Linked DNA regions of Homo sapiens: region 1 is linked to region 2. Evidence: promoter capture Hi-C in human tissues and cell types (Jung and others, 2019). All regions are on one chromosome and are shown on one strand. Each heading gives the region's core, a stretch centred on a gene start or on the middle of the fragment in contact. The rest is flanking DNA. Distances are from core to core; before and after follow the strand shown. Region 1 overlaps MAPRE3 (microtubule associated protein RP/EB family member 3). Region 2 holds the start of PREB (prolactin regulatory element binding).

Region 1 (3,335 bases), core at 735-3,234, 130 kb before region 2:
CCGTCACTCACTGAATTGACACGTGTGAGGTTCTGTGCGGATGCTCCACTTGAGTTAGCTTGAACCTTCACAACAGTCCGGCAGCATAGGTATTTTAGAATTATTAGTAATGTTGAGCATGTTTCACATGTTTGTTGGCCATTTACACTTCCCCTTCCATGAGTCATCTGTCAAGAGGCTCTGTGCCCACGAGCCATACACATAATGATGTCCAAAAAGCGCTTCTATTTTACTGTAAGAAACTCAGGCAAAGAGAGGCCGCCTTTGCCCAGAGGATCTCTCATGCCTGGGAGGTCGTGAGAGGCAGAGCTGGAGTTGGGTGCTGTGGAGTCCTTTTCACCACCTTTTTCATGCACCATGCTGCCCGTCCACATAGCTCAATGTGCCTGTTTATTTCTTAGGAAATACACCACAGGGCTACTATTTAGGTAGTGCAATTAAAGTTTACTTTCTGAATTCTCTATTTCCCCTATCTTTAGCAGAAAACTTGGGAAAGCCTAAGTCATTTTCCACTTCTTAGCCCCTTCCTCCTCCCCCTCATTTTCTAGGCAAAAATATGATAAGAGAGTAGCTTGGATAATGTCTAGCTTTGTTTTGGTTCTCTGGTGATGTGAATTTTTCCCATTGTTACCAAACTCCCACTTTTTCCACGTCGAAATACATTTCATGATAGCTGGAGTATGGCAACAGCACTCCTGAGTTACAGGCATGCGCCACCATGCCCAGCTAATTTCTATTTTTGTAAAGATAGGGTCTCACTATGTTGCCTAGGCTAAAACCTTCTGATAAGGATATTTTCTAGTATCTCATGTTTAGAGCAAATTACTAGAATATCAAGGATCTAGTAAAAAAAAAAAAAAAAAAGTAAATGCCATGGATATGTCTGGGATCAGTACAGATTTATCCCAGGATACTAGATCTTTAGTAGAAGGCATGAATGGTGAGAATTCCTCAGCAGGATTTCCGGATGTTTGTTAGACATGAGCACACAGATGACTTGTGGGTTCTCAAACTCGACAGCCCAAAACAGTTCACAGAAGAGTAAATATATATGGGTAATAAACATAGAAATATGTTCTCCCTCACTAGTAATCAAAGAAACATTATTTTAAAGATAAAAAAATACTTCTCTTTCAATCAACACACTTTTTAAAATAATAACAATGTTGGTGTTGAAATGAGCACTCATAAACTTCTGGGGAAAAAATGAAAGGTACAGCCTTTATGGAAGCTGTTAGTCCTTAAAAAATATATCATGCCCTTTGACCCAGTAATTCCCTGCCCAAGGAAGTAGTCACAGATTTAGACAAAAATTGAATGTTCAAATATATTAATTCCAGGACTATCAAAAATCAAAATGCCCAGCAACTAAAGCTAATGTAAGGATAGCATGGAATATTATGCCCCATGGAAGATGATGCTTCCTAATATCCTTAATTATTCTTTGAAGTGTCCACAGCATAATCTTAAGTGAGCTCGTGGTCTTCACTGCACTCTCAAACCTGCTCTTCCTGCAGTTTTCTCCATCCTTCCAGTGGCTTGGGCAAGAAACTTTGGGGTCATCTTTGACCTCTCTCACATCTCATAGTGCTCTGCAGCAAATCCTCAGTCCCACATTTTGTAAGATTCTCCCTACTTTCCAGGCCTTCTGCAAAGCATGAACTGCAAAGGCTCGAGGAGGAAAGAAAGCAACACTGAACTCCCTTGAGTGGTTAGGGTTTTGGTTCCTAAATTAAGGCACAGTTTTCCTTTTCCTTGAATTAATTATCTAACTCTTCCTCCTAGGGCAGAATCAATGGGCCAAATGGCCTCATTGAGAACATGACATCCAAAGGGAGAGTGGCAGGAGTCAAAGTATTATTATAATGAATAGAAATAGGTGAGGGAGAAAGTAATGGGATTTCATTGGTGGCAACCCTACTTGCTGAGAATTGTTGTATATTTTCAGTGAGCAACAAATATTGTACAGCATGGAGGACCATCAAATTTAAAAGAGACCTTAAAACCAAGAGTGTGTCGGCCGGGCGCGGTGGCTCACGCCTGTAATCCCAGCACTTTGGGAGGCCGAGGTGGGCGGATCACGAGGTCAGGAGATCGAGATCATCCTTGCTAACACGGTGAAACCCCGTCTCTACTAAAAATACAAAAAATTAGCCGGGCACAGTGGCGGGCGCCTGTAGTCCCAGCTACTCGGGAGGCTGAGGCAGGAGAATGGCGTGAACCCGGGAGGCGTAGCTGGCACTGAGCCAAGATTGCACCACTGCACTCTAGCCTGGGTGACAGAGCGAGACCCCGTCTCAAAAATAAAAACAAAAACAAAAACAAAAAAAAAACAAGTGTGTGGAAGCCATTAGCTTAGCTGCTGTGGCTATTAGACAAGTAGGCTTTGCCATTGGGTGAAGAGAGACTTAGTAGACTATTGATGTCTGATAATTCCCATTATTGGGGAGGAAATGTAATTTCTTCTTAACCTTCATAAGTTCATAGTTGGGACAGACCCCTGTAACAAAAGACAGATCAGCAAAAGAAAAACAAGCAAAGTTTTTTTATTTTGTTTTTCTCTTCAGATACAGGGTCTCACTCTGTCACTAAGGCTGGGGTGCCGTGGCATGATCACAGCTCATTGAAGCCTTGAACTCCTGGGCTCAAGCAATTCTTCCTCCTCAGCCTCCCAAGTAGCTGGGACTACAGGCATGTGCCACCACGTCCCACTATTTTTTTTAAAATTTTTTGTAGAGACGGGGTCATGCTATGTTGCCCAGGCTGGTCTTGAACTCCTGACCTCAAGCAGTCCTCCCGCCCCAGACTCCCAAACCACTGAGATTATAGGCATGAGCCACCATGCCTGGCCAAGCAAGTTTATTAATGTGTGGAGGGCACAGAATGCAGGAGAAACCCCAATGAAAGGCAACTTCAAGGCAGTGGCGTCAAACTCTGGCTTATATGCCATCTTCAGAAAAGAACAATACATTTGTAGAGAAATAACAGGACAGAAGAAAGCAATTTTAGGCTTCCAAAAGGGGGAAACTGTGGGAAGTTAGATACATGGGAAGAAACCAATGGTGTAAGGTTTGTTTACAGATTCCTCTGGTGCTGTGTCTGGGCTGATAAGAACTATCTCCAGTAAAGAAGAATTTATATCCTGTCTTTAGGCAGAAAAGCAGGAGAATAGAGCTCATCCTCTATTTGCTGCTCTTTAATTACTTTTAGCTCAAAAATAAGTCAAATAGGCATATTTTGGGGTGACATATTCTGGTTTTCCTTTACCTTGAAGTTGAGTCATAACACCAAAGGTTCGTCTATATCTTGCATGTACAAATAGGTAGAAAGGTTTA
Region 2 (3,036 bases), core at 95-2,594:
GCTGGGGCTGCTCCCTTCCTTTGTCGAGGCCCCTGCTCCTTGGAACCTGTAACACAAACACTTGGCCAGGTTCCAGGCTTCTACAGTAAGGAGTACTGGCCCCTCTCTCCATGGCAGGTGCCCATACAACTTCTAGCTTGCTACCAAAACCCTACTTCCAGACCCACTTCTTTAGAGACACCAAGAGTGACCTTACTCGTTCAACCCTTTCCCCAAGGGGGTAGAGAGGGAGCTCCTCACCGGCCTTCTCTGCCTTGTTGCCCTGCTGTTGATGTGCCTGGAAGCGCAGGAGCTGACAGTGGGCATCCTGCCCTGCAGCAAGGATGTCACCAGCCAGTGCCAAGTTCATGGTGGCCCGTGTCTCTGTGTCATGGGAGTGCAGCAAGGAGGCACTCAAGCGCCCATTAATCAGCTCTAGCTGCAGAAAGTGCTGTGGGAGGGGGAACCCGGATGAGCAAGTTCAGGGGTGCCCAGAGAGCACGTTTAGGGAAGAGTCTGATGTCTTACCCCTTTGCTTTCTGCACGTTCTAGTTCACAAGGGTTTCTCGAGTCTTTTTTCTCTCATTTGGGCCTCACAAATCTACACAGTGAGCAGGACTGGGATTATTACCTCTATTTTACAGAACAGGGTGAAGCTCAGGAGAGGGAAGGAACTTAGCCTAAACCCAAATGCACCACTCTCGCCGCTGCTAGAGGGCAGGCAAGACCTCCCGGAAAAGGCCAGTATAAGACCCCTGGAGCTGCTCTGAGGCGGAGCTGAAGCGTTCCTGGCGACTCTGCAGCTGTGTGCAGTTTTCACTTTACCTTAAAAGCCTCTCCTCCGCCCGCTGAGTTCTCGACTGAAATTCGCCCCTGGGCGTCAGGCAAGCGGGTCTTCCCAACAGAAGTGGGCAGGGCCCGAAGCTGGAGTGTGGCCCGCCCCGCGACCCCCCGGCCACCCTGGAATCGCCGCCAGCCCGCAGCAAGACCCAGCCCCAGTGGCCCTGCGCTCTCACCACGCCATTCTTTATGCCTGTCTTGGCGGCGCCTCCTCCGCCCGCAGCGATGAGCAGCCCAGTGCTGGGGTCGACCTGAAGCGCGTACAACGGGAACGGAGCCCGGTACAGCTCTGGCGCCCGGCGCCGGCCCATCCCGCCCGGCGCGCGTTCACTGCCCGCACCGCGGCACCCAGGACATGCCGCGCCGGGCCTTCGACTACTGCCCCGGCGGCTGGTGAACTCGGCCCCGTCGCCGCCGGGAGCACTCCCTACCCCTCTCACACCGGGGAGTTGCCAAAACCCTGACCATCAGCAGGAAGCCGAGCCTCAGCTCGGCTCCGTCCAAGTCGGTCTCGCAGACGCGCACTGCGCATGCGCACCTGTCTCGCGGCTCCCTCCGCGCAGGCGCAGGAGCGCCGACACGCGTCAGCACTAGCCGGCCGCGGGGCCGCGTTTCCCGGGGCGGGGCTTCGGTTCTCCACCCCTGGCGCGGAGGCAGAGTCGCCCAGCACCGACTTCGCCATTTTTGTGCGGGGCGCGGGGCGCGGGCGGAGGAGGTGGAGCCAATGGAGGTTGATGAAGGTCAACCTTTAATAAAGAAATCCGACTCGCGCCTGTAATCCCAGCACTTTGTGAGTCCTAGGCGGGCGGATCAGGAGTTCGAGACCAGCCTGACCAACATGGAGAAACCCCGTCTCTACCAAAAATACAAAGGGCGTGGTGGCGTGCGCCTGTAATCCCAGCTACTCGGGAGCCTGAGGCAGGAGAATCACTTGAACCTGGGAAGTAGAGGTTGCAGTGAGCCGAGATCGCGCCATTGCCATTGCTCTTCAGCCTGGGCAACAAGCAACAAGAGTGAAACTCCGTCTCAAAAAAAAAAAAATCCTCTGCCAGGCACGGTGGTTCATGCCTGTAATCCTCCTGTAATCCCAACACTTTCGGAAAGTCCGAGAGAGGAGGATGGCTTGAGCCCAGGCTTTCGAGACAGCCTGGGCAACATGGGGATCCGTCCCTACGAAATATTTAAAAATTAGCCAAACATCGTGGCACCTGTGGGCCCAGGTGCCCAGGAGGCTCAGGCGGGAGGATCACTTGAGACTGGGAGGTCGAGGCTGCGCTGGACCACCAGTGATGTCACCACTGCACTCCAGCCCCTGGGCAACAGAGCTAGACCCTGTCTCTCACACACATAAAATCCTCAAATAAGGACTGTTCCCATCTGAGGAGTGATATGCCAACTCCTAGGAGCACAGGCCTTTGCATCTTACCTCAGAGAGGAAGTGATTTGCCCGAGGGCACACACCAGAAACCACCGGAGTCTCTTGCTTCTTAACGGAGGCAGCATGAACTTAAAAATAAACCTGACTTCAAATGCTGAATCCATTGCTTCCTCGTATGAGGACACGTCTGTCATCCTTAACGCCTATCGCCCACTTTTGGCAGGGGTGGTGTCTGCCATTCCCTTTCTCAAGGCTTCACACTCCTGGGCTGGTGGCTTGGTGGGTGGCCAGCTGCTTTGCTGGCCTCAGAGGGGGCAGTTTGGCTCCCGGGCAGGTATCTTCTGCGCCTGACACTCCATTCTCCCTCGGGTTTCTGATCTGATGAGGACCTTTGTGCACTCCTGAGAGCGAGCACAAGGGATGTCCTTCCCTGCAAAGAGACGCCCTCTCCTGCATTCTCATTAACCTAAGGTGCACCCAGAGGAATAGCGCAGTGGCTTCATCTTTGGGGATGCCAATATCTGTCCCACAGAGTTGAATTAGATGTGTGAAGGGCCTGGCCAAGCTCTCTGCATATCTCAAGTCCCCAGGCCTTGTGGGTCCCTTGTCCTCCTTGGATACATGGCACCTGCTCTTTCTGGCCTCTCCGTTTCCTTTGACACCACCCTCCAGGGTCTTTTTTATTTTTTGAGACGGAGTCTCGCTCTGTTGCCCAGTCTGGAGTGCAGTGGCCTGATCTCAGCTCACTGCACCCTCCACCTCCCAGGTTGAAGTGATTCTCCTGCCTCAGCCTCCTGAGTAGCTGGAACTACAGGCACCCGCCACCACACCCAGCTAAT

The links. The method cuts DNA at HindIII sites, captures the fragments that hold promoters and counts their contacts. A contact is called where the count stands out against the background at its distance.
Region 1: a fragment that was not itself captured here is called in contact with the fragment with the promoter of PREB in region 2 in 1 of the 25 tissues and cell types used here (liver).

What each region holds. Positions count from the first base shown.
Region 1 is chr2:27,003,883-27,007,217 of GRCh38, forward strand. All of the region lies in intron 1 of MAPRE3 (microtubule associated protein RP/EB family member 3), which reads left to right. The region is part of intron 1 of MAPRE3-AS1 (MAPRE3 antisense RNA 1); the gene reads right to left. Among named protein-coding and RNA genes, the nearest start is that of MAPRE3-AS1, 9.0 kb to the right of the region's middle. The HindIII fragment of the contact is 6,287 bases long and covers 1-3,335 here.
Region 2 is chr2:27,133,292-27,136,327 of GRCh38, forward strand. It overlaps PREB (prolactin regulatory element binding), which reads right to left and starts at 1,345. Exons shown (of 9, transcript NM_013388.6): 1 at 996-1,345; 2 at 241-430; 3 at 1-46. The coding sequence starts at 1,130. RefSeq lists a silencer at 1,064-1,163 and enhancers at 1,102-1,758, 1,234-1,283. The HindIII fragment of the contact is 4,836 bases long and covers 1-2,497 here.